Linked DNA regions of Homo sapiens: all the other regions are linked to region 5. The links are contacts of gene promoters, found by promoter capture Hi-C in blood cells and fetal thymus (Javierre and others, 2016). All regions are on one chromosome and are shown on one strand. The core of a region is centred on a gene start or on the middle of the fragment in contact, and the rest is flanking DNA. Distances in the headings are between cores, read along the strand shown.

What was found. The method cuts DNA at HindIII sites, captures the fragments that hold promoters and counts their contacts. A CHiCAGO score of 5 or more calls a contact.
Region 1: a fragment that was not itself captured here is called in contact with the fragment with the promoter of TMEM72-AS1 in region 5 in 3 of 17 cell types (M0 macrophages, M1 macrophages and M2 macrophages); the score reaches 8.2 in M0 macrophages.
Region 2: a contact is called between the fragment with the promoter of HNRNPF here and the fragment with the promoter of TMEM72-AS1 in region 5, in 1 of 17 cell types (M0 macrophages). The highest score is 10.0, in M0 macrophages.
Region 3: a contact is called between the fragment with the promoter of ZNF485 here and the fragment with the promoter of TMEM72-AS1 in region 5, in 2 of 17 cell types (activated CD4 T cells and non-activated CD4 T cells). The highest score is 7.7, in activated CD4 T cells.
Region 4: a fragment that was not itself captured here is called in contact with the fragment with the promoter of TMEM72-AS1 in region 5 in 1 of 17 cell types (total B cells); the score reaches 6.1 in total B cells.
Region 6: a fragment that was not itself captured here is called in contact with the fragment with the promoter of TMEM72-AS1 in region 5 in 4 of 17 cell types (naive B cells, non-activated CD4 T cells, activated CD4 T cells and 1 more); the score reaches 10.4 in naive B cells.
Region 7: a contact is called between a fragment that was not itself captured here and the fragment with the promoter of TMEM72-AS1 in region 5, in 1 of 17 cell types (total B cells). The highest score is 7.7, in total B cells.

What each region holds. Positions count from the first base shown.
Region 1 is chr10:43,129,309-43,132,997 of GRCh38, reverse strand. It overlaps RET (ret proto-oncogene), which reads right to left. Exons shown (of 20, transcript NM_020975.6): 20 at 2,647-3,689. Among named protein-coding and RNA genes, the nearest start is that of CSGALNACT2-DT, 7.2 kb to the left of the region's middle. RefSeq lists enhancers at 1,463-2,063, 2,064-2,664. The HindIII fragment of the contact is 4,128 bases long and covers 1-3,519 here.
Region 2 is chr10:43,407,581-43,411,141 of GRCh38, reverse strand. It overlaps HNRNPF (heterogeneous nuclear ribonucleoprotein F), which reads left to right and starts at 1,956. Exons shown (of 4, transcript NM_001098204.2): 1 at 1,956-2,011. RefSeq lists silencers at 1,537-1,766, 2,217-2,336 and enhancers at 2,057-2,116, 2,847-3,186, 2,626-3,229, 3,197-3,246, 3,387-3,446. The HindIII fragment of the contact is 6,154 bases long and covers 1-3,561 here.
Region 3 is chr10:43,604,631-43,608,332 of GRCh38, reverse strand. It overlaps ZNF485 (zinc finger protein 485), which reads right to left and starts at 1,895. Exons shown (of 5, transcript NM_145312.4): 1 at 1,787-1,895; 2 at 1,259-1,336. The coding sequence starts at 1,282. It also overlaps the pseudogene CAP1P2. RefSeq lists a silencer at 1,580-1,859 and an enhancer at 2,140-2,189. The HindIII fragment of the contact is 2,214 bases long and covers 169-2,382 here.
Region 4 is chr10:43,665,442-43,668,876 of GRCh38, reverse strand. The region is part of intron 1 of ZNF32-AS3 (ZNF32 antisense RNA 3); the gene reads right to left. Among named protein-coding and RNA genes, the nearest start is that of ZNF32, 18 kb to the right of the region's middle. RefSeq lists a silencer at 1,380-1,559. The HindIII fragment of the contact is 8,678 bases long and covers 1-3,435 here.
Region 5 is chr10:44,958,271-44,961,843 of GRCh38, reverse strand. It overlaps TMEM72-AS1 (TMEM72 antisense RNA 1), which reads left to right and starts at 2,155. Exons shown (of 8, transcript NR_033842.1): 1 at 2,155-2,252. It overlaps RASSF4 (Ras association domain family member 4), which reads right to left and starts at 2,042. Exons shown (of 11, transcript NM_032023.4): 1 at 1,978-2,042. RefSeq lists a silencer at 2,072-2,291 and an enhancer at 2,069-2,363. The HindIII fragment of the contact is 10,910 bases long and covers 1-3,573 here.
Region 6 is chr10:43,571,229-43,574,772 of GRCh38, reverse strand. ZNF239 (zinc finger protein 239) reads left to right here and starts at 157. Exons shown (of 4, transcript NM_001099282.2): 1 at 157-233; 2 at 1,096-1,136. RefSeq lists a silencer at 375-434. The HindIII fragment of the contact is 940 bases long and covers 781-1,720 here.
Region 7 is chr10:43,628,469-43,631,825 of GRCh38, reverse strand. It overlaps ZNF32-AS3 (ZNF32 antisense RNA 3), which reads right to left and starts at 3,009. Exons shown (of 5, transcript NR_038867.1): 1 at 2,848-3,009. LOC124902416 (a long non-coding RNA gene) reads left to right here and starts at 342. Exons shown (of 2, transcript XR_007062132.1): 1 at 342-508; 2 at 781-1,044. It also overlaps the pseudogene RPL21P88. The HindIII fragment of the contact is 5,917 bases long and covers 1-3,357 here.

The DNA of each region.
Region 1 (3,689 bases), core at 206-2,705, 1.8 Mb after region 5:
CACAAAATATGGAGCAAGGCACACGCCCTAGGGAGAGGGGAGGCTCCAAGACATGGGTGCTGCCTGGCTCCCTGCAGTCCTCTGACCAAAGTCTCTTGCCCCTGGAGACCCCTTCTTCCATGGGAGAGTATAGAAAAGGATTGATGTGCAGGTGAGACAATCGAGCAGCCAAGAAACAGGTTGCTCTTCTGTTAATACATTGAGAAAAATACACAAAAACTTGAATGTTTTAAATGAATTTCATATTTTTATTCAAGAAATTGACAGTCTGCATGGTAAATATTGTCTGTGTATGAAATATCAAACTTGTTTCCTTCTCAGAAAATGAAAAATGATTTTTTTTAGCTTTAGAATTCACTTACCTTGCTTACCAGCACATTTTTAGCTTGAACTGCTCAGTGTCATCTGAGAGGATGCAGGTCTATGATCTCTCCCAGTGTGGTAGTCACAGTGGCTGGGGTAGTTTCAGACCGCAAGCTCCCTCCATGATGACCTTCACATTTCTGCAGCCCCCACAGTGAGATGTGCCCCCATAAAGGATCCCCTGCCCGGGGTCCAGCTGAGAGATCTTGCTTGGCCAGGTCCTGTGATTTAACACCTCAGAGACATCTGCAAAAATACCTGGTCACTTGACACAGCACTCAAATTTGTAGTTGCAAAGATAAACTGTGATTTCTCCAGGGTGTTCAGAGTGTTTGCCTCCTTAACTCCTGGGAGCAGCCTGCCCTTGCAGCCCTCAGACGGCCACTACCTGGCCTCAGCAGCAGGACACAGTAGTGGCCCCACGCTGAAAAGTTCTCTACATGCAGGTTCTTATGACCTCAGCTAAGATGATCCTTCCTGAGTCCCAGCTCCCTGAAGAGGTGGGAGACTCTACACAGTTTCGGTCAAGGCTGCTGCCATGGAGAAGGGACAGGGCCACAGCAGGAGCCCTGGCAGAGAGGGTGCTTTCCCTGCAGGCGCACAAGCCTAGGACTTGCACCTGGAGCATCTTCATGTGGAAGACGTGTGGGGCCACGCACACTGCTGCATGCACCCTGAAGACCCACCTTTCTGCTTTTTCAGGGCCACAGAGGTTAGGATTCCCTAGGACTTCCTAGAACCACCCCCCAGTTGTGAGGACCACTAAACACAGGCGAACCTCAGAGATACTGTTCCAGACCACTCCGGTAAAGCAAAGAAGATTGAAGATCCCAAATAAGTGAGCCACACAAGTCTCTTGGTTTCCCAGTGCATATAAAAGTTACACTTTACACTGTACTGGAGTCTGTTAAGTGTGTGACAGAACTATGTCTAAAAAACAATGTACATACCTTGGTTTAAAGATTCTTTACTGCTTAACAGTACTGATAGAGAGACATGAAGTGAGTGTGGGCTGTTGGAAGAATGGCCCTGATAGACTTTCTCGACGACTCAGCGTTGCCACAAAACTTCAATTTGTGAAAAACGCAATAAAGCAAAGAGCAATAAAACAAGGTGTGCCAGACACTATGCGTGAACGCACCCGAGGCAGAGAGAGGCACCGCTAACTGCTCCACCTGCCTGCGGGAGAGGCTTTCTTTATATGTTAGAAATTATGCTTTCCCTTCAAAATTTCTTTTGTGTATGAAGTATTTGTTCAAGCCCTGTTCTCAGGCACATTCAACTAGATTTCTGCCCACATAAGCTGGCCTCGTGGTGGGAAGAAATCCTTCGTGAAGGTTGGCAGAAAATGTGTTTTTAGGGGAAAATAAAACAGCAAACATACACACACAAATAGTCCTAATGTAGAGTCTACATTAGGGGTGGCTTTTAGCATTAACTTTTCTTGGCGTAGATTTCTACTTTCAGAGGTAAAGGCTACAGCAAACAGCTGGCTCTGGAGATTACGTTCACTTCCAGCCCGTGGTCCAGGCTGAAGGAGGAAGCCGTGAGCAGACACAGACACCCACGGCTGGGAAGCGGGGCCTCATGGGCCTGGGGCGGGCACTGGGCGAGGCGTGCCAAGGCCTGCATGTACACCACCTGGCGAGGCGTGCAAAGGCCCACGTATACACACGTGTATGTGTGTGACACAGGCCGTTGGCATCTGACACAATGCAATCGCAGATGAGACTGATGTTGACAACAACTCCCGTTTGCCCACTGACCCATCAGCTCCACGCCCGGCATGAGAAGCTCAGAGAATTCCTCGGGGAAGACATAAACAGAAGTAGTGAGTATGTCAGGCTTCATGGTGGTTCAGGACAGCATTTTCCCTCACACTTCTAATGGCCTTCCTCAGGACTTGGCATTTTGTATTCTGTCTCCCACAGCTCTAAGGCCAACTTCAAAAGATCAGCAACAAGCAAATTGCTAGAGAACTGTGAAGACCTAAACTTGACACTGGCTGCTGCTTTGTTCTAGGGATGGACACTTTTAAGGAAGGGATTCCTTGAACAGTGGAGTTAGCTGAGTTTTTCAGTTTCTATCAATGTGCCTATTCACACGCAAATGTACCAGATAAGCCAGCGATATCTCCAGAGCCCCTAGTCCTCGACCACTATTGATGCCTCAGTGGTTATCATGATAGAATTCTTTGTGATGTTTTAAATATTGTATGGAAACTACAAAATCAGAAATCTGTTGTTTCCAACTAGAATGTTAAAAAGAAAAAAAGTTTACACATTTTATGATACATGATTTTATTTACACAACTGATTTTCTTAGTCACCTTGATTACAAAAAAAGGAACATGATCTGGTTTAATGACCTTTCATAAATAGATTTTACAAATTTTAATAACTGACAGATTACTACTTAATACTCAGTAATACTTAATACTTAGTAACTTCTGCATTTACGTGTATGAAAATTCCAGTAGAGCTAATAAGGATGGGGACTTTTATAACTCAGGAATAGACAATTAGGTTATTGGTCAAGGATAAATTGGTCAAGGATAAATTCCCCATCACTGGGTCAGCTGTTTAGACCTGGAGTTCTTACCCTCCTGAGAACAAACCTGTTGCAGCAATTCACACTTACTGTGTAGGCATTTTTAATAATTTGAGAAAGTTTATTCTTATTTCTGCATTTAGTAAGACTATCATTAAGCATATCTGAAAACCAAAAGTTTACCATGTCTATAGATATTTGTAAAAGAACTTATCACAGTGTATCTGAAAAACAGCCCAAATTAGAGCCAGGTTACGTGTCCAATAAGCATTTTTCAAACTCTCCCTCTGGGTGTGTGCGCACACACCACAAGGCTCTATTACACACGCATCCAAGCCTTGGCCTCACAAAATGCCACAATTTTGCTGTTTTTGTGAAATGCCTATATAAAATACAGTATTTGAATGAGACTATTTTAAGTCCTATCAGTGCTTTAAGTCTGAAGAGCAGGCAGTGTTTTGGTAATCCGACTCTTTTCTGCGAAGTTACAGTGCTGACAACACAGCCAGAAGAGCTGCTGAGACTTCCCAAAAGCTGCCCCCACAAGACTGGAGGAGTGTTGTGCATCTGTGACCACAAACAAGCAATGAAGAATGACAAGAAGCTTATGAGTCATGGTCAGAATCTAAGAAACAGAAACATCTTGTAGCAGCATTAAATTACAAACACAGGAAGAGCTGATCCATGGGCCTTTCACACAGGCTCTATAAGAGCCAAACACCATCTTTTTCACATCAGAATTGTAATCAGAGGTGTAGCAGTCCTTGGTCATTGTC
Region 2 (3,561 bases), core at 707-3,206, 1.6 Mb after region 5:
CGATTCTCCTGCCTCAGCCTCCAGGGTAGATGGGACTACAGGTACGCGCCAACACGCCCGGCTAATTTTTTTTTGTATTTTTAGTAGAGACAGGGTTTCGCCATGTTGCCCAGGCTGGTCTCAAACGCCTAACCTCAGGTGATCCACCCACCTCGGCCTCCCAAAGTCTTGGGATTACAGGCGCGAGCCACCGCGCCCGGCCGGCCACAACTTCTTAAGAATACCTACCTATCTGATTTTCGCCCCTTTCCTATGATGCTGAATACCTATCTGATTTTTGCAGGAACTATTTTCTGTAATTTTGCCTCAAATTATGCAGTTTTCTCTTTGGACATTTTTACCTATTCTGACAGCTCCTGCTTTACTCTTTCCATTCTCTTTCTTGGAACTAGCTTTTTCTTTTAACAAACTCCTTCCTTCATCACAATCATCCCACTCATCATCTGACACTATTTTGAGCACTCCTTTACTTTCTCTGGTGATTTAAAAAATAACGTTCAGCCAGATGCGTGGCTCAATCCAGTAATCCCAACACTCTGGGAGGCGTAGGTGGGCGGATGGCTTGAGTCCAGGAGTTCCCGACCAGCCCGGGCAACACAGCGAAACCTCGCCTCTACAAAAAATACAAAATTTAGCCGAGAGTGGTGGTGCTACTCAGGAGGTTGAGGCAGGAGGATCGCTTGAGCCCAGGAGGTCGAGGCTGCAGTGAGCCGTGATTGTACCACTGCACTCCCGCCTGAATGACAGGGCGATACTCAGTCTGGAAATAATAACAATAGTAACAATGTTCAGCTTAACCTGTGATGAGTGCCTTGACATCATCTCTTCATGAAGAAGATCCACCAAAATAAAATGGTTACAATTATTAGCCCTACAATACATCAAAAAAAAAAAGAAAAGAAAGAAAATCTGTCCCTGGCTTAGCCATTAGCCACCAAATCTGTGTGTTCAGGTGCTCTGTGACTGAAAATCTTGCCCTCGACCTGGGTCTGAGTTACATTCTGAGGTTTGGGGGCTTCTCACACCACGGAATTTATCACCTGAGCAACTTCAACCTGACAAATCCCTCCTAACGCCCTGCTCTGAGACCCCTTTAGGCGGTCTCCGGAGTACTCAGTGTACCTTTTTTTTTTTTTTTTCTTTGAGACGTAGTCTCGCTCTGTCGCTAGGCTGGAGTGCAGTGGCGCGATCTCGGCTCACGCAAGCTCCGCCTCCCGGGTTCAAGCGATTCCCCTGCCTCAGCCACCCGAGTGGCTGGGACTACAAGCGCGCGCCACCACGCCTGGCTAATTTTTTTGTATTTTAGTAGGGGTTTCACTATGTTGGCCAGGATGGTCTCGATTTCCCGACCGCCTGATCCGTCCGCCTCGGCCTCCCAAAGTGGTGGGATTACAGGCGTGAGCCACCGCGCCCGGCCTTCAGTGTACTACTTTCCTTATTTTATTTTTTGAGACAGCGCCTCGCTCTGTCGCCCAGGCTGGACGCAATGGAGCAGTCACGGATCACTGCAGCCTCGACCTCCCGGGCTCAAGCGATTCTCCCGCCTTAGCCTCCCAAATTACTGGGACCACAGGCTTGCGCCACCACGCCCTGCCATCGGCTCTCATTTCCTTTTCCCATCCTAGTCTTCCATCAGGCGTCCTTTCGGCGCACATTTCAGTGTCCTGCGGGGCTCACCAGTGTCCTTCCTCCAGGGCCTCAGGGGCAGTCAGAGGGATCTTTCCCGCCGCTCCACTCCCTCCTCCTCCTCCCCCTCCCCCTATCCCCTCCCCTCCCCTCCCTTCTCCTCTCCAGAAACGTCCTCGCTTGTCCGCCTCCACCGCCTCCCCCGCCAGCCGTGTCGGCTCTGCTCCGCGCCCAGCCGGCCAACCGGCGGCTCAGCTCTGGCGCGTCACAATGCGCCGTCGCGGCCCCGCCCCCGGACGCCGGACGCAGAAACTCCGCCCTGCCGCGGTCCTTGCGTCCTTCCGGCTCCGTCGTGGAAGCAGGACTGCGCCGCGTCTTCCTCAAGGTGGGGTTCGGGGGGCCACCGAATCGCTGTCACGCCGGCAGGTAGCAGGGGGTGGGGACGCGGGCTCCTTGGGCTTCTGTTTCCTGGTGTCCAGGGCAAAGGGCTGAGCCGGGCAGTAGGGCCTAGTCGGGGCCTGGCTCGCCGGGAGCAGGAGGGCTTCCGGCAAAGCCGCGTGCGCTCGACGGGCAGGCGCTGAGGATTGGGGCCGGCAGCGCGCCTGACCCCGCCCCTCGTAGGCTCCGCCCCGTGCTCGCAGGCGGGGGTTTCCATGGTGATGGTCAACAAGCCTCAACTGCCTCTGCTACAACTGCCAAGTTCCCCGCGTCCCACCCTCCTCTAGGTGCTCCAAGGGACCACCGGGGTGCCTGATATGAGAGCGGGAGTGTAGAGACTCGGAGGCCGAGGTGAGGGGCGGCCGAAGTCTCCGAGGTCGAAGGCCGCACACCCGGGACCTAGCGGGGACCGGGTCCCCCTGGGGGTGGGGACGGGGGGTGGGATTTGAGATTAGGGAGACTATCCGAAGTCCAGGGCCCCGTACCCGGACTACCTGGGGACTGGGCCTATTGGGGTGGGGATCGTTGGGCTGGGGCTGGGATTTGGGATCAGGGAAGAGCGATCTGAGTTTAAGCGCCGCAAACCTGGGACCGAGCGAGGACTGCACATAATGAGGGGCCGTGGCGCTGAGATTTGGGTGACGGGATTCGAGGTCGAGGGGCCCGTACGTGGGACCGGCAAGAACTGGACCCACTGGGATCGGGAGACGCAGCGTCGGAGGTCGAGAGCCGCACGCCCAGACAGTGGTCCCACGCGGTGAGCACCGCGGGCTGAGATTTTGGAGTCAGGAAAGCGCGGGGAAGGCACGGACGGCCGGGTGCGTTAGTCCGGCCCCCTGGCGGGGAGCTGGCGACTGCCGGAGGGCTCTGAAAGTGAGAACAGGCCTGGCGCAGTGGGAGGCCCAGCCGGGAGGATCTCTTGAGCCCAGGAGTTCCCGACAAGCCTGGGCAACATAGACTGTCTCTACTGAAAAGTAAAGAAAAAAAAATTAGCCACGTGTGGTGGCGCGCGCCTGTTGTCCCAGCTACTCGGGAGGCTGAGGCGGGAGGGTCGCTTGCTCTGAGGTCGAGGCTGCAGTGACAGTGATTGTGCCACTGCATTCCAGCCGGGCGACGGAAATGAGACCTTGTCTCAAAAGAAGTAATAATAGTAATAATACCTGAGTAAAATGAAAGCCGCGCGCTCACGTGGCTGCAGGCGCCTGAGAGTTGCACAAGACTTCCTTGTGGGGAGTTGGCTCCGCCCTCCTCCCACGCCCGGTTCCCGTAGCCTTAGCTCTCGGCCCCGGGCCCTTTTTCCTCCTCGGCTGCGCCGCGTGTCCTCGGAGCGCGGTCCCTGTATTGGTCTCCTGCTCCTAGAGGTATCGTGTTTGTATTTGGGGTGAAAATCTGACTCGTGCGCGCTCTTCAGCTTAGTCGTCCTTTTTTTTTTCCTTTTGTTTGTTTGTATTAAGTATTTTCGTCGATTCCGCCCTGCTCGTAGGAAACTTGTGGACG
Region 3 (3,702 bases), core at 646-3,145, 1.4 Mb after region 5:
CTCAGTCTCGAAACCCATTTCACTTTTCTTCACAGGATTTCTCACCACCTGGCAGGAGAGGTTTGCACTGACTGTCAGCATCCTCTCTAATGTGAGCTCCAGGGGGACAGTGTGGGTCACTGCTGCCTCCCAGTCAAAAACACTGCCTGACACAGAAGTGTTCAAGCTTTATTCAATCAACAAATGAATAGAAACTTTGAAAAGACATGGAAAGTGATTAGCTTTATCCGAGAATTTACAGGGAGTATGATCTGACTCTGGGGCAGAATATTTTTAAAAAAGAAAAAAAAATTGCTTTTCATAAGAGTAACAACTTACTATGTACCAGCCACGGTGCTAAACCCTGAGATACATATCATCTCTCTAAATTTCTGCCGTAACTATATAAAGTAAAATCTATTTCGTAGCTAAAGACACAAAGGTTCAGAGAGTTGGAAGAACTTGCTCAAGGTCCCAGGGCTGGTTGAAGGCACAGTATAAAAGGAAGCCACAAAAAGTGGTAATGAAACTAGAACAAATTGGAATGGCTATGAAATACTAAAAGAAAAAATGAGTAAGCCTTAAAAAAATGAAAAGTGTGTTTCAAATGAAATTACTTGACTTAGAGCAGTAGAAATGTAGGTGATCTTTAATTTTTTTAATTTTATTTGTATAATAGACACTCAAATGTTTATCACTTCCTTTCAAAATACCAATTATTTAATCAGCTTCTCAAAATCCTTCAAAACCTAGTTTTCTCCAGGATAAAAGCAAACTCCAGTCTGGGATTCTAGACCATGAATGTTTCCAACTTTCTCAGACCAGTTTGTTCATGGTCCCGCCATAATGACTTCATTCAGGCAGCGCTTTCCCCTAGTATCCTCTGCAATTATGCAAATCTCATTTATTCTTCAGGAAGAACTAAGGCGCCCACTACTCCACCCCTCCCACCCTACCACACACTAAAGGTCAAGAGAGCACTGCTATCACCCTATGTCTTTATGGCCTACGTCTTTACATGCTAACGTGTATTTTTTTCATCGTCTGCCAGTTTGCAAAGCACTTTTCTGTTTCTAGCACTCTAGAAAACATGGGTAGCAATAATCTACTTGGTGAATGACTACGTAATGGGTAGACAGGACGGAAATCGCGGGACCCATCCAGGATTGGTTCGGGTAGCTTTGTCCACACACAGGGCAGGGCATTGTCCGGGCAAGAGGCATAAACCCCACCTCGCTGAAACACGTGGTTTCTCAAGAAATGGAAAAATCAAACTTGCCTGGATCTGGGCTCTTGGGGCCATCTGTCTCCTGAACTGTTCTCCCAGGCAAGGGCTGAGAATCCTGCGTAAGTCAATCTGGGAAAGAAGAGAGGAAATTGAGGAAGTCCCTCCGTGCCCTAGCCTAGCTAGAATCTGCCCTCTAGACCAGGTCCCCGCCCGCCCGTTCCCTCCACAGGTGGGCAGACAGGTCCAGGTGGGTACGCTCGGGAAGAAAGGAAAGGGAACGGCTGCTGGGATCCGGCCTGGACTGCAGCCAGCTCCACGCCAAACACTTTTGGCAGCACCGGGGGACGGCCTTGTCAGTGGCCCAATCTGTCGGCCGGGGCGCAAGGCTGGAGCGCTCTGTGATGCACCAGCCTCGAGCGGTCGCTCCACACGGCGCAGCCACTGCGGGTGGGCACTGCCCACCGCCGCCTTCCCCTCCCACCCCGGCTCGCCCCTCGACCCGCCCCTGGGAAAGGCGGGGAGCACCCGCCAGGGGCTCGAGGCTTCAGGGACCCAGCCTGACCCCGGCCGCTCACGAACCGAACCGAGCCGGCAGGGCTGCGGAGCTGCACGCCCAGAGAGTCAGCGACCACACCACGCCGTTCGGACAGTAACCACCAGCCAGGGGCTGGTGCAGCGCTCGCACCACGCGGAGACAGGCTGGACCGGAAGCGGAAGTGGCTGAGGCCGCGGAGGCCTCTGGGAAACGTAGTCTGGGCCGCTTGGGGTCTTAGGGGCTCCATCCGCAGAGCAGGTTGGCATCACCTGGGAATCTTTGAAAAGTGAAGGTGCGGGAAGTGGAGAGCGGCTGATCGCAGTCGGGAGGTGATACATTATGACTGACATGCAAAATCTGGTAAAAAATTGGACAGGGCAGTGGGCCGCCTGGAGGCAGTATCCCATACCTCTGACATGCACCGTGGATATGGAGATAGTCCTTCAAAAGCAGGAGCAGCTCCATATGCGCAGGCATTTGACTCGCTGCTTGCCTGCCCTGTGGCAGAGTACTTGAAGATCAGTAAAGAGATTGGGGAAGACGTGCAGAAAGATGTGGAGATGGTACACACAGTTTTGAAGTTGGAGTGAGCTCTCTTGGTTACAGCTTCTCAGTGTCAATAGCCGGCAGGTAATAAGCTTTCCGATCTGTTGGCACCTATCTCAGAGCAGATCAAAGAAGTGATAACCTTTTGGGAGAAGAACCGAGGCAGCAAGTTGTTTAATCAGCTGTCAGCTGTCAGTGAAAGTATCCAGGCCCTAGGCTGGGTGGCTATGGCTCCCAATCCTGGCCCTTATGTGAAAGAAATGAATCATGCTGCTGTGTTTTATACAAACTGAGTCCTTAAAGAGTACAAAGATGTGGATAAGAAGCATGTAGACTGAGTCAAAGCTTATTTAAGTATATGCACAGAGCTGCAGGCTTACATTAAGGAGTTCCATACCACCGGACTGCCTGGAGCAAAACGGGGCCTGTGACAAAAGAACTGAGTGGACTGCCATCTGGACCCTCTGCTGGATCAGCTACTCCTCCCCCACCACCAGGCCCCCCTCCTCCACTAGTCTCTGTCAGTTCAGGCTCAGATGAGTCCGCTTCCCTCTCAGCACTGTTTGCGCAGATTAATCAGGGGGAGAGCATCACACATGCCCTGAAACGTGTATCTGATGACATGAAGACTCACAAGAACCCTACCCTGAAGGCTCAGAGTGGTCCAGTACGCAGTGGCCCCAAGCCATTCTCTGCACCTAAACCCCAAACCAGCCACAAAGAAGGAGCCAGCTGTACTTGAACTGGAGGGCAAGAAGTGGAGAGTGGAAAATCAGGAAAATGTTTCCAATCTGGTGATTGATGACACAGAGCTGAAACAGGCGGCTTACATATACAAGTGTGTCAACACGATGTTGCAAATCAAGGGCAAAATTAACTCCATTACAGTAGATAATTGTAAGAAACTTGGTCTGGTATTCGATGATATGGTGGGCATTGTGGAGATAATCAACAGTAGGGATGTCAAAGTTCAGGTGATGAGTAAAGTGCCAACCATTTCCATCAACAAAACAGATGGCTGCCATGCTTACCTGAGCAAGAATTCCCTGGATTGTGAAATAGCCAGTGCCAAATCTTCTGAGATGAATGTCCTCATTCCTACAGAAGGCGGTGACTTTAATGAATTCCCAGTTCCTGAGCAGTTCAAGACCCTCTGGAATGGGCAGAAGTTTGTCGCCACAGTGACAGAAATTGCTGGATAAGCGAAGTGCCACTGGGTTCTTTGCCCTCCCTTCACACCATGGGATAAATCTGTATCAAGACGGTTCTTTTCTAGATTTCCTCTACCTTTCTGCTCTTAAAACTGCTTCTCTGCTCTGAAAAGCACAGCTACCTGCCTTCACTGAAATATACCTCAGATGTGCAGTGGGATAGCAGGTCAGTTGATCTTCTGCAGGAAGGTGCAGCTTTTCCA
Region 4 (3,435 bases), core at 647-3,146, 1.3 Mb after region 5:
TGCAAGCTACAGGCACGGCTTCTCTATATCTAGAATTGTGTATGTGTGTCCATGTGTGTCTGTGTCTCTCTGTGTACATCCACGTATGTGTGTCTGGGTCTGTGTGTGTGTCTGTGTGTCTCTGTGTGCATCCATGCGTGTCCGTGTCTGCGTGTCTGTGTGTGTGTGTCTCTGCATATCTGTGTGTGTCTATGTGTGTCTGTGCCCTCCAGGCCGGGTAGGGGCAGGAAGAGTTGGGAGAGGAAGCCTGATACAGGCCCAGGCCCCAGGCCCTGCTCACTCCCCTCAGCTCCTTGGGCTGAGTGCAGTGGGCTTGAGGGTGGATGTGCAGTGGCCTCCTTCCCGAAGTCTGAGGCCTTGGTCTAGGGCTGAGGTTGAAGGACAGCCTGGATGGCACAATACCAAGGCTCTTGGAGAGGCTGTGTCACCCGCCTCAGGGGTGCAGGTGGTTTGGGCACATTTGGCACCCACAGCAGCCCCATCTTCCCTGAAAGGCTGAGGAGGGAGGGCAGCCAGAAGTTCCATGGGGACCCCGGTGGACTTGAAAGCTGGACAACCCAGGCGAATCTGATCGCTGGAGTCGGAGGTGCGGAGGCTGCAGTGAGCCGTGATCGCTCCACTGCACTCCAGCCTGGTCGACAGAGCAGAACCTTGTCTCTAAAACAATTAATTAACATGACTGAGAAGTGACTAACTTGGCAGAATTCACCAAGAAGGGGTCGACTGCTCTCTATCAAGCATGAAATAGGGGCTAGACTAGAATTACAGAACATAATGGGAGTTAGGTTTTTTTCGTGGGCGTCCTACTGGGAACTCTGCACCCACGGCCAGGCCTCCTGCCGCGTGCGAGTCTTCTGACAACCCCCTGCGCAAGCGGGGCCCCTCCGGCCGCCCCGGGACGTGCGTGTTCCTCCCGCTCGCGGCCCACCCCACTCGCGGGGCGTCCTCCCGCCAGCGGGACCTGCCGTAGGAGGGGAAGGGAAGGGAAGGGAAGAAGGCCGAGTCGCCTCCCCTTAGGTGTAATCTGTGCTGCTGACTTCAGAAGGATGTCTTCGGGTTGGAAGATTTAACTGGGAGCGAAAGTCAGTAAACAGCCCACGAAACAAAGGCCAAAGCTCTCCAGGCCCTTCCAAAGGTTTTTCGTATGATGAAGCCCCGCAGTGGGGAGGGCCCCGGAGCGCACCCGCCGCGCCCCTGCTGGGAGCTTCCCACTCTCCGCGGAGGCTGGGGGCAGTCCCGGCCAGCGTTTCCATCAGCGAAAAACACCCACTAGGCCACGTCTAAGTCGCGCTTGGAAATCGCTAAGTGCGGGACCCTGGCTCGGGCCAGTGGACACCCGGACTCCCCGCGCGCACAGCAGCCCGGCCGAGCCTGGGCGCCAAGCCTGGGCCGGGCTCCACATGGCTCCCCTTGGCCCCAGGGAACTGTCGCCCCTGGGTTCCGCCGCGGCTGTCCTCTCGGCCCTCTGCTGGCGCATCAGCACAGTGGTTTTCCGAGGCAGGGGTTGGGTCCAGCCTGTGCTGCTTCTGAGCCGCAGGAAGTCGCTGAGACCAGCGTAAGGAGGAAACCCCAAAACCTCTAACTGGACAGGAGAACTCCTGAGGAACCTTCCGAGAGGAGGGGCCGCAGCTGAAGCCGGCAGGCAGAGACGGAGAGAAATTTGACGTCGTCATAATCAGCACCAATACATATATACATAAATACTTGGAAAACCACCCAATGTTAAATTTCAAATTAGAAACGTCCTAAATGTCCAACAGCAGGGGAATGGCTAAGTAAAGTATAATACCTAGCTAGAACAGATGGTACCAGCCAGTCTAAAAGGAGGGTTCAGAGTTTGCTGTAATTTTGGAAATTGTAATTAATACCCATTTAACTGAGGAGATAATTTTTATTAACTAACATGATCTCATTTATAGCTTTAAAATGTGCCTAAAAATAGCAATTGTCATGGTGATTTTATTTGTTTGATAGAATGGGTGACAATTCATATATGAATGAACAAGTTACCCCAAGAAGACAAACAGGTTAGAGTAACCTTGTGCAAAAAAAAAAAAAAAACTCCATCTGCTTCCGAAGGAGGCGTGAGGTTGCCTGTGTGGTGCCTGCCTTCTTGAACGTGGTGCAGAAGAGCTGGGGCTCTGCCCGGCAGTGCCCACTTCCTCTGTAACAGGCAGGATGATGTCTGCTGAGGAAAGAGCTGTGGCCTGAGGAGGGGACAGCGGATTCGTGAAAGTAGAGCCCAGGGAGTGAAGGAGGGATGGGATGGGGGATGGTTAGGGGACAGGGAGTCCAGAATCAGAAGCGTGAACCCCGGGGCCCGGGCCACTTGGGCTGGTGATGCAGCCTCCCAGCTTGGCAGCAGGAGGTGAGCCCTTGACTATGGCCCCCATGAGGTCCCCTTCTCTCAGGAGGGTAGTAATGGTCCCTGCTGCTGTGATTTGAATACTCCTCCCTTCAAAACTCATGTTGAAACCTAATCCTCAATATGGCAGTATTGAGAGGTGGGGCCTTTAAGAGGTGACTGGGTGATGAAGGTTCTGCCCTCTTGAATAGGTTAGTCCATTCCTGGATTAATGGATTGATGAAGGGGTTGATGGATTAATGTGTTATGCAGTAGGACTGTTGGCTTATAAAAAGGGAAAAGAGACTTGAGATGGCACGCTCAGCCCCCTGCCATATGATGCCCTGAACCACCTCTGGGCTCTGCAGAGTCCCCACCAGCAAAAAAAAATGCTCACCAGATGCACCCACTCAACCTTGGACTTCCCAGCCCCCAGAACTGTGAGAAATACATTTCTTTTCTTTATAAATTACCCAGTTTCAGGTATTCTGTTATAAGCAACAGAAAACAGACTAAGACCCCTGCTTCCTAGAGCTGTAGAGAGGGGCCCACACCAGCATCCACAGAGCACTAGGAAGAGGGCCTCCATGGCATAGGCACCCAGGAAATAAGTGTCCGCTGAACCTGTGGATTCACAGGTGCCTCTGATGGACTTCGGGATGGGCTGGTGGTGCCGTTAAAGACCAGTGGCTGCCTCTGCTGTGTTCGTGTTGTCCACATCACTGCTGGGATGACAAACCTGCAGAGGCTCCATCTGCACACAGTTTTGATGAAGCTGGAAATTCTCCCTCTCTCCTTGCACCTCTTTCTCAGACTTTCTTCAGGGATTTTTATGGTTTTCTAAATTATTTTTGCATAAACACTATTTTAACAGCAAAGAATAAAAATTTTTAAGTGCAAACATTCACACTTCATCTCACTGCTCTCAAATTATCTTTTACATTTTCATATTTATCTCCTATCCCTTCTCATATTCAGACATAATTTGACATAGTGCTAATTATAGCATTAATTCATATTCTGTCTTTGCTGTTCAAAGGAGTTTAGGGTAGATTGGTGGAAAAGTCAGATTAAATGAACGTGAAGCAAGG
Region 5 (3,573 bases), core at 906-3,405:
GAGAGAATAACCACCTAGCCTTTGCAAGGCTCTGGGTTTAAAGCTCTGCTCTGTGACTGCCTGGCTCTGTTACCTTAAGCAAGTCCAGTTCCCTCTCTGAACCTTGGGCTCCTCATCAATTAAATAACTATAATCCTCGATGACTTCTGTGAAGACGAATGAGGAGACCTGTAAGATGGGCCTTGTGTTGGGCTCACCCATAATGAAAAGAGGCTCCCATTACTATTCTTATTGACACTGGGAGTTGGGGGCTCTGGAGAGACTGTGGAGCCCCAGAGATGGGAATGTGAGGCCTGCCTGCAGGAGTGGCCATGAATGAGGAGAGAGTCTGAGCTGACACCTGAAACCAGGCCCCAGACCCCAGGGGCCCAGGGCAGAGGGCTTTCTGGCAGATCCCCTAGTTAGGTCTCCCCTTTGAGGCTTTGCACGTCCAGAATCTGAACTCTGACACACACCCAAGTTTCGTTCATGTTCTTTGTTATCTGTCATGGTCCACTTGGTCCTGACCCAGGGCGACCCTGGACCTTGATTCTGTTCTCGACCTCCAGGCTACCCACTGGAGCTTCATGGTGGAAATACAACCCAATCTCCTGAGTTTCAGACAGACACTTTAATCTGTAGCATCAACCTTTTTGTTGTCAAATCACCAGCACTACACACTGAGAGAATTATGGCTAGAACTAATGACAACAGCCTTCACATACACTGACAAAGTGCTGAAACAGCCCATGACAATTTCCGGCCAGCATTTTTTTAACCTAAGTTTAATGAGTTTCATCTCTCCTCTTCCCTCCCTTCCTCTTTCTCCTCTGACCCTCTCCCTTCCTGTCTTCTCCCCTAACCTGCTGTCCTGGCAGAAGTAGCTAAGGAACCACACAGAGGAACAGAAGGCAGGATGGTCTACATTTACCTGTTACTTCACCAATTCACTTCTAACTTAAAAAAAAATGGTTTCTGGCAACAAATCCTGATTGACACCTTAGTACTGTGGGCAGTTAAACTACAGCAAAGCCAGCGAGGGGCTCCTCTGTGAGTGCAAAGCATAGCTTTGGAGTCTAACCTGCTTGGGTTCAAATTCCAGAAGCCCAGCCCTTATTTGCTGTGCGACCTTATTTAATTCCTATGTGAAATGGGGCTCCTGAAGCTGTCCTTACTGTGTTTTAAGAAAGTGCTGGCCCTGGCCTGGGCACTGATTCTGGTGTGAGAGGAGGCCTCCCTCCCTCCGCCGTGCCAGGTTAATGAAAACACTGAGGCATGTTTTGGAAGTGGGAAGTGCAGGATGGGACCGGAGTCAGGAGCCCAGAAGAGCAGGGCAGCAGGCAGGCTGACCTTCGGAGACTAAGGGTGAAGAGCAAGAGACTCAGGGGCACAACAAGCCCTGGGTTCAAATCCTGGCTCCATCACCAACTCATCCGGTAAAGGTGGACAATTTTATAACTCTTTAAGCCTCAGTTTTCACATCTGAAAAGGGGATAACGAAAGTAGGACTCTCACTTGCTGTGAGGAGTAAGAGGCATATCGTGTTAAAGCACTTGGCCCAGAGCAAGGCGAGCCCTCTACAGACAGCGATTGTGAGACAGACCCCCCCTGCTGCTATTATCTTGGCGTTCGATTTCCATCAGTGAAATCAGAGTTGTGCCAGAGGCCTCTAGGCTCTCTCCCCAACTCTAGGATCAGTGCTTCTAGGAAACTGGTTAAGGACAAGGTGAACAAAAAAGGTGTAGCCAGTGGCCGGGCTCATCTGTCTTGCTCAGGTTGTAGCCCCTAAATTGCTTAACAGAGGTGCCAGGCGCAGTGCCCCCTCTCAGCAATGAGCCCGAGGCCCGCAATGCGCCAGGCTGGCGGGGGAGGGACCCTGCGCGCTGCGGCCGAAGGGCACAAGTGCCCAGGCTTCAGCGTCCCTGCCTGGTGGCAGTCCTGGGTCGGAGGGGATGCTCCATGGACGCCCAAGCACTCTCCTGCTCGTTCATCACTCACCGTCCAGTCATCGCGCAGTCCAGAAGCCACTGCATGTGTCGTGTCCTCGCTTGCACCGGAGCTGCGCCCGCAGCGCCTGCTGACCCCAGGCTTCAGCTGCTCGGGGCCAGGCCCGCCCCTCGCCCCGCCCCTCGCCCCTCGCCCCGCCCCGCTCCCCGCCTCTCGCCCGGCACGGCCAAAGGTGCCGCCCCGGTCTCTCCGTCCCGCCCCGAGCACGCCCCTCACTCCGCACCGGCCAATGGCACCGCCCCGTCCGCCCCGCTCTGGGAACGCCGGTAGGTTCCGGGTGCAGGGCGGTGGCCTAGGGGCGGCGGGGAAGATTTGGGGCCTGCGACCTGCCAGGTGTCCCCAGGCCATTGTTCAGCTCGCCGCGCGCTCCCGAGTTCCCGAGGGCGCCCCGGGACGCGAGGAGAAAGCAGCCCGACTCAGCCCCGAGAGGTTCGGTGTGCGGGCAGCGGCCAGGGACTTTGCGGGGTAGCGCGGACTCCTGGACTTCCAACAAGGGCCGCTGCGCAGGCGCTGCAATCACTGCAGGCACTTGTCTGCATGCCTGGTGGGGCTTGGAGTCTGGGGAGGCTTATCAGTAAAGCCCAGAGCATTTGCTATTTATTGCTCAAGGGGCACCTTTGTACAGTCTGGCCGTTTGCTTGGCATGGCCTCTTAGAACTCCTTATTGTTTAAGAAATCCGATCTGGTGAATAAGAAGTTAGTCTTTCTCTCCCAGTCACTGCCTCCTGGACGAATATTTGCCAGCACGGAGGCAGAGAGGACAGAAAACCACAAGCCATTTGGGGAACTGGGAACAGTTCAGTGTTTCTGGGGTGTGGGGGTGTCAAGGTGGGGGATGGGGTTGATGGAAAACATTTGCAATTTCTGCTTTACCTCACGATTCCCAGCTCTGACCTCTGGACCTGTTCTCTCCCACCCCTAACATAAATCATTTTAGTTTCATTCAGTGTGCGTTTCCTAATATTTTTAGGGTCTCATGGCCATTTTAGAATCTGATATGGATCTTCTAGAAAGTGCAGGTGGCCATATGCACCAAAATCAGCCTGGGATTTGAGTCTCATGGGTCCCTGAACTTCGACTTAGAGGGGCTGTGCTAATGCTTGTATGGCTGCTGTATGACTTATGTTGGAACCCCCACCTGCAAAAAGTGACAGGACTGAAGATACCCAGTCCAGGGGCCCTCCCGTTTCTGCGTTTGCTTGAATTTTTGGAGAATGGCCCATCCTTTGACAGCTCTGAGGCTCCCTGTGGTTGGTGACTTGTCATGACACATTTGCTCTTCCACAGCCCTCATCAAAGCTGAGACAAATAATCGGGTGCTTCCAAAGGTTTTTTAAAAGTGGGTAAAATTCAATATAACTGTCAACCTCTGAGCATGAGATCCTAAGAATTTAATCACTCCTGATAGGAGAAGTAAACATAGCACCAGGGTGACATAACAGTTTCCCTGGGCTCTCCAGAACTCGAGTGTGAATCATTCTCTCTGACCTAATTAATGCTGTTCACAGGGCCATGACTGGCTCTGAGTGAGGACTGGGTTTGGGACAGCAACCCCATGTGTCCTGTGCACCCATTGTGGGCTCAGAC
Region 6 (3,544 bases), core at 1-2,500, 1.4 Mb after region 5:
ATTTGTTTGTAATAAAAAACGAGGAGGAGGACTTGAATACACGCGTCGCTGACTCAAAGATGGTCCCCTCCGCCCAAGAATCCCGCTCCGCACAGCGCAGAGTTCAGGGGCCCGCGCCGGAAGTGGGCGTGGTTCGCCCGCGGCTTGCTGGGACTTGTATTTCGGGGCCCTAGGCGCGCGAGCGGTCAGCATCCGGAATCTGGCCCCTGCAGGCGTGGGGTTCCACGTGGGAGGTGAGACTGGCCGGGCTTCCCCAGCCGCTGGCAGAGGCGTTCAGGGGTCAGGAAATGGGTGTGCCGCGGGTAAGGCGCTGGGCCGCCGAGCTGCGGAAGCCGGGAGGGCGGCGATGGTAGGGCACGCGACCAGCGGAGGCGCGGCCCGCGGCGGCACGTGTGTCCCGGCGCCGCATTTCCGAGCTGCTGCGCCCCCGGGGCCGGGCTGCGGCCACACCGAAGCCTGTGGGGCCCTGCAGCTGAGCGGCCGCGCCTCCGATGGCCCCTCCTCCCTCCTGGCCGAGCTCTGGCCTGGGCCGGCTGGGGGCTTCGTGGTTGGCCACGCCGGCCTTTTCCTCGCCTGTGACGGGCGTTATTGCAGGGGGGTTTTCGGTGGACGTTAGGCGACGGACGGGGGCTCCTGTAAGAGACTGAGGTTTCTGTCCGCAGCACTGCCTTCGCTGAAAAGAGCTTGCATCTGAGCCCCCGCACCGCAGGAACGAGCCAGGCTCCTGAGAATGAGGTCGGGGAAGGCGTCTTGGGCAACCGAAATCCATCCCGAGAAGCTTCTCCTCTTAACTAGAACTTTAGGACAGAGATCGGGAAAGTCAGAGGAAATGGGCACGGCTTCGAGCTGCCGGCGGCTGCGGAATTTACCTAGCCTCTTGGTTTTGGGGGGAAAACTTGGCTTGTTTAATCGAAAGCCCTGTGGAGAGAGATGAAGGTGGTGACAGAAAATGCTTCACCTCTCACCTGATGGAGGGAGTGTGGGTGGAAGTGACTGAAGAAGCGTCAGAGGCAGGAGCGGAGTAACTTTTTCCCCGCAGTCTTGCTGGACTTGATTTTCATGGCTTTTTCTCTTTCCCTAACTCTGCCTTTCCAGGAATCCATCCCCTCTGGGAGTAAGAAATGACCAGGGTCCGGGTGAGTTGGCGTTCCATTTCTCCTAAAATGCCATCTCCCTGAAATGTCCCTGTGCCATGTGTTGTTTTCTTTATTGTCAGGCCCCCAGTACGGTATTTTATAGCTATGGATGTAGGGACATTAAGATACTAAGGACATGTAGCTAGCAGATGATGTCACCAGGGTCTGCACAGAGAGTTTTCACTGGCCCATCCTGCCTCCAAGAATTTATTCCACTCCTCAGAGCAGTGGGCTGTGCCCTCCTGGGGAGCCTCTCAAAGCCTGCCTTTTCCTGCCAGACATTTCACTCACATTGAAAGTCATTCCAAGCTATTCCATACTCATCCCAGTGCTAAGTGGTCTCAGCAAAACAGATAGAATGATAAACCACGGTGCTTTTCTTCAAGGAGCTTACCATCTTGATGAACATATTATATTACCTGTACACAAAAAAATGCATATTAATAGTGATAATTTATTAACTATGAGTCAAAAACGAGGAAATTCGTTAAATGGCAGCACAGTGGTTACAAAATCACTCTAGAAATGCTTTTCAACTAGGCTATGCATCAGAACTCTCTGTGGTGTTTTTTAAGAACTAAGCTTCCTTCTCTCTTCCAGACCTAGTGAAAGGAGAGTTTCACTCCTTTTTTATTCTGTTGATCTTTGTACATCCAAAGGTTTATTGTGAAATATCTCTCTATACACTATAAGTGTCTCTAGGGTAGGTAAAATGAGTTATTCATCCTTTATACTCAGGTTGATTTGTTCTCTTTCACTAGCATGTCTACATATTTAACTGTTCCAGTAAATTTTAAATTACCAAGTCGTACTTTTTTAAAGAGAGTTTTCAGTTGTCCCCATAAAACCATCTGTAGGAGGTTACCTCAAAATTAACCCTTAGACTCCCAGGGTATTTGAGATGGTCAGCCCCCACTTAGAATCCCATGGTGTTTGAGATGGTCGGCCCCCTCTTTGCCCTGTCCTGGCGTTTTATGGTGGAGAGCTCTAACTCGGCTAACTCTGAGAGAGCCGAAGGAAAGTGCCTTGTCCTTTGTTTCAGAGAGCAGAAGGCCAGAAATAAACCCCGTGTTTTCTTCCTTCAGGCTGTTCTTTCTCCATTAACTAAACAGGTCATCACATCAGAAGTTGTTTGAATAAAATATCAGACTGCGTTTTAAGGGAAAAAAAATGTTTTTTAACACTACCAGCAAAGGCCATCTTTTTGCTTGGCAAATACAGCCCTCACACACATGAGCTCTTAGAAAAAATCTGTTTAGAGGACAGTAAGCTGACTTGAGGTACTGAGAGCATGGCTTCTCTGTGCCCTGAAAAGTAATTGAGGACTTCAAGGGAGATTAACCTTAGTAGAATCAATACATTTTCCTTCCTTCGCTTCTGCCTGCTCCCTAATGATTAAGTATTCACTGCCGCTGCAACTGGGGATTGCCAGTTTAGTAAATTTTGAGATTCTGGTGTGTGTTACACAACAACTTTTTTAATTTAAAGGAAGGACTTCATTCCAAGCATTGTGTGTTTTCTATGTACCACACATTGTCCTTAGGTCTGCTGAAAGGCGGGAGTCTTAGTTAACCCTGCTTTTCCTCTGTGACATTGGGTAAGTCACTTCGCCCTTATGAACTGTGGTTTTTTTCTCTGTAAACTGAGGGTCTTGGGCTTGACCATCTTTATGTTTTCTTTTAGTTGTATTATTATTCATTTAAATTGAATGTGAATTTATATTTATCTTTCAGATTCCAAGTCAATTGTGGTAGTTGCTGGGGATTTAAAGATGAGTTGAGGCCAGACATGGTGGCTCACACCTGTAATCCCAGTACTTTGGGAGACTGAGTGGGGAGGATCACCTGAGGTCAGGAGTTGAGACCAGCCTGGCCAACATAGTGAAACCTCATCTCTACTAAAAATACAAAAATTAGCTGGTCATGTTGATGCCTGTTGTAATCCCAGCTACTCGGGAGGCTGAGGCAGGAGAATCTCTTGAACCCGGGAGGTGGAGGTTGTAGTGAGCTGAGATCATGCCACTGCACTCCAGCCTGGGCAACAGAGTGAGACTCTGTTTCAAACAACAAAGATGAGTTGAGTGTAGCCCCTATCCTTCAGAATCTTCCAGCCAACTTGGGAGAGACTTAATAGCTATAGTAGAGGGATGTGAAAGATGCTATGAGATCTCAGAGGAGGAGAATTCTAACTCATCCTCATGCTTCAGAAAGAGGCTATTGTCCTGAGACTGAAAGCTCCAAAATGGATGGGAGAACTCAATAAGTTAGGGCTTACTATAGAAAGGACTGTGCTAGACTCAAGTGTAATGTGTTGAATGACTCCAGGTAATCTAGTGTGCCTCTTCCTGCTTTTCCACTTCAAAGTAAATTGTTAGATACAGCAGAGATGGGCTCTAGAAAGAAGTGGAA
Region 7 (3,357 bases), core at 828-3,327, 1.3 Mb after region 5:
AGGGTCACAGATAGAAACAGAGAATTCAGAAAGGGAGGGAAATAAACACAAGGTGGGACAAAATTCAGAAGCAGCGGCTGCGACTGTTCAGCACTGTGAATATGACTTCCATCAACCCCAAAGAGGCTCTGAGACCAAACACAAACTGGGCCGGCGCTTTTGCTAAAGTCCATAAACATCAACACACAATTTACTCCACTGTTCCGTAGTTTACATGTGTTGTGTTATATATGTTTGTGTATACAAAATATTAAATATATTATTAAATATAATGTTTAAAAGGTGAACTGTTAAAAGCAAGGATTACATAGTGTTTATCTTCTGGAGGGGTGCTCATAATTTTCTTTTTTTTACAATCCAGAGGTCTTCTATTTTATTTTTTTTAACACCGATTATGCCATGAATCAATCCATAGGGAAGAGGTTCCAGCAGCTCAAGCTCCTTCCCATTTGTTCTCACACAGTGCGCTTCTCTGGGCAGAGCAGACTGGCACTTCTGCTGAATCCAGGTACCTTTCTCTTTGGCTTCCTTCTTTTTCTGATCATTTTCCTTCACAAGTTTCAGGAAGCTAGCTCAGCTCTCAGAGCGCTTAAAGTGCTCAATACCCACATGAATTCTCTTGGCAAGAACTTGCCCTTAACTTGTGTGTTTACAACAATGCCGACGGCCTGCTGCGTAACACTGTAGACTCTTCCAGTTCTGCCATGATAACACTTGTGGGGCATTCCTTCTTGAACAGTGCCCACTCCTTTAATGTCTACAATATCATCTTTCTTATAGATTCACATATACGTGACCAAAGGGAACAACTCCATGCTTCCTAAAAGGCCTAGAAGACATCTACCAGGAGCCTCTCCTCTTTCCCTTTGTGTTTGTCATTTTGTCGAATTACTGGAAGACGGTGGTTCTGGCCAAAAGGGCCATAATAAACTTTTATTTTCTTGTTTCTGTGTTTTTCTATAATAAACATACATTATTTTTATAACCAAAAATGACCAACAACATACATTAATTTTCTCTTTAATAAACTTTATCTGATTTTCCCATTAAAGCTAAACATGCTCCTTACCACTTCCAAAGAAAAAGTTATACTTAAAAAAGCCAATAATCTCCCTACTCCAAAATCCCAAGTGTTACATCATTCCAAATAACATCACTCCAAAGTTACACACACACACACACACACACACACACACACCACAGTATACTGGTCGTGTGTATTTCTATATACTATTTGATATATATACTTACACAAACCATGGAATTTGAACATATTTTCTTATTTCATTCTTTTTAAACAAAAAAGGACCACTCTATACACATCGTTTGGAAGTTTAGTTTTTCTTTTTTCATTAATAAACGTATCTATCTTTACATTCTAGTAACATATTACTGCAAACTTAGCAGGTTGAAAAACACAAATACATTATCTCACAATTTTGCGTGGTTCTGAAGTTAAGGAGGGGCCAAGCTGGGAACTCTGCTCAGGGTCTCACCAGCCTGAAATCAGGTTGCCAGCCAAGCCGTGTCCATCTGGTCTTAACTAGAGAAGATCCCTCCTTAGCCCATTCAGATGGTGGCACAATGCATTTCCCGATGGCTGTAGTACTAAGGGTCCCAGCTTCTTACTATTAGCTGAAGTTTGCCCTGAGGTCCTGCAGGCCACTTAAACTTCTCTGCCACCACATGGCAGTTTGCCTCTTCAAGTCCAACAGAAGAGAATTTATCTTCCAAGTCTGCTAAGAGTCTGCTTATCTTCCAAGTCTGCTGAGAGTCTCCAGAGTCTTATATAACATAACCACCATAGGAGTGGCATCCCATCACCTCTGCCATATTCTATCAGAGGCAAGTCTCTGGTTATTCCCACAAAGGGAGAGGTTACACAAGGGCGTGACCCATTGAAGGTAACTTTAGTGTGTTACTTTTCTAAGGATTCTATAATAAAGTACAACAAACCAGGTGGCTTAAATAACAGAAATTTATTATCTGGCAGTTCTGGAGGCTAGAAGTCCAAAATCGAGGCCGTGCTCCCTCTGAAACTGTAGCGAGAGCCCCTCCTTGCCTGTCCCTAGCTCTGGTGGTTTGCTGTCAACCCTTGGCGCTCTTGGCTTGCAGCTGCAGGACTTCACTTTCCGCCTGTGCCATCACATGGCCTTCTCCCATGTGTCTGTGTCTCTACATTTCTCCACCTCTTATATGGACACCAGTCACATTGGATTAAAGGCCCACCCTATGCCACTATGATGTCATCCTAACTAATTACATCTGCAAAGATCCTATTTCCAAGCAGGACATGGTCTGAGGTACTGGCAGTTAGGACTTCAACATATCTTTTTGGAGGACAGAATTGAACCCATAACACTTGGGGTGTATCCTCCACGGTATCAAAAACATTCTTCTGCAGAAATACATATAAATCCAACCTAGTGGTTCCTGAGGACATCAGCATCACCTGGGAACTTATAGGAAATGCAAATCCTCAGGGCCTATCCCAGACCTACTGACCCCGAAACTGCGGAGATTGCGGAAAAGGGAGGGAGAGACAGCACACTGTGTTTTAACAAGCCTACAGCCCATTCTTCTTACCAGCTGCACAGTTTGACTCTCAACCCTACCAGACTCTCTAGGCAGACCCAAAACTCCCTTCAGGGCAATAAAAGAGCAGGAAGAAAATTCCAAGCAGCAGGTGGCCTGGATTACCCTACTCCTTACACAGGGGGTTGAGACAGTGCATGTCTGTCCTCCTTTTCCACGCCAAGTTCCTCATTGCTAGGGCTTCCATTCAAGAATCAATGCCACAGAAAACTAGAAAAGTCAACAAGGATGAATAAATACATGATTTCTTACCTAATTTTGATGTCAAGTCACAGGAAGGAGTACAGACAAGTCAACCATGCCAAAAAGGCCCCACACATGCAAACTCAAAGGAACATCTTCATCTTCCCTTTTATCATGGGCACAGGTCTCTCCCAAAGTCCCTTCCACACCATCCACCAAGTCCAGTTCACCAGATCACCTGTAGCCCTGCCCTGATTTTGTTTACTTTACTTGCATTTGGGGTCATTATGATGTCGTTGCCATAGGGTCAGGGACTTAGTGACAACAGAATGTACAATCCAGCCATGACCAAGACTTGTGTTTCTGCAGTGCTGAATCTCACCTTACTCTTAGAGAGCCTCATTCCTTTGATTAAAGAATGCAAATCACTCTACAATTCTGCTTGTTTTCTAATTTCTATCTCTTCCCAGTAATTCTGGCCAGCCTGCCTAGTTTTTCTTGATTTTACTGATTATACTCCTTTTATGTTTTCAGGCCACTAACCTCCCTAGCTTTGCCATAGTCCGAGATGGCGACTGT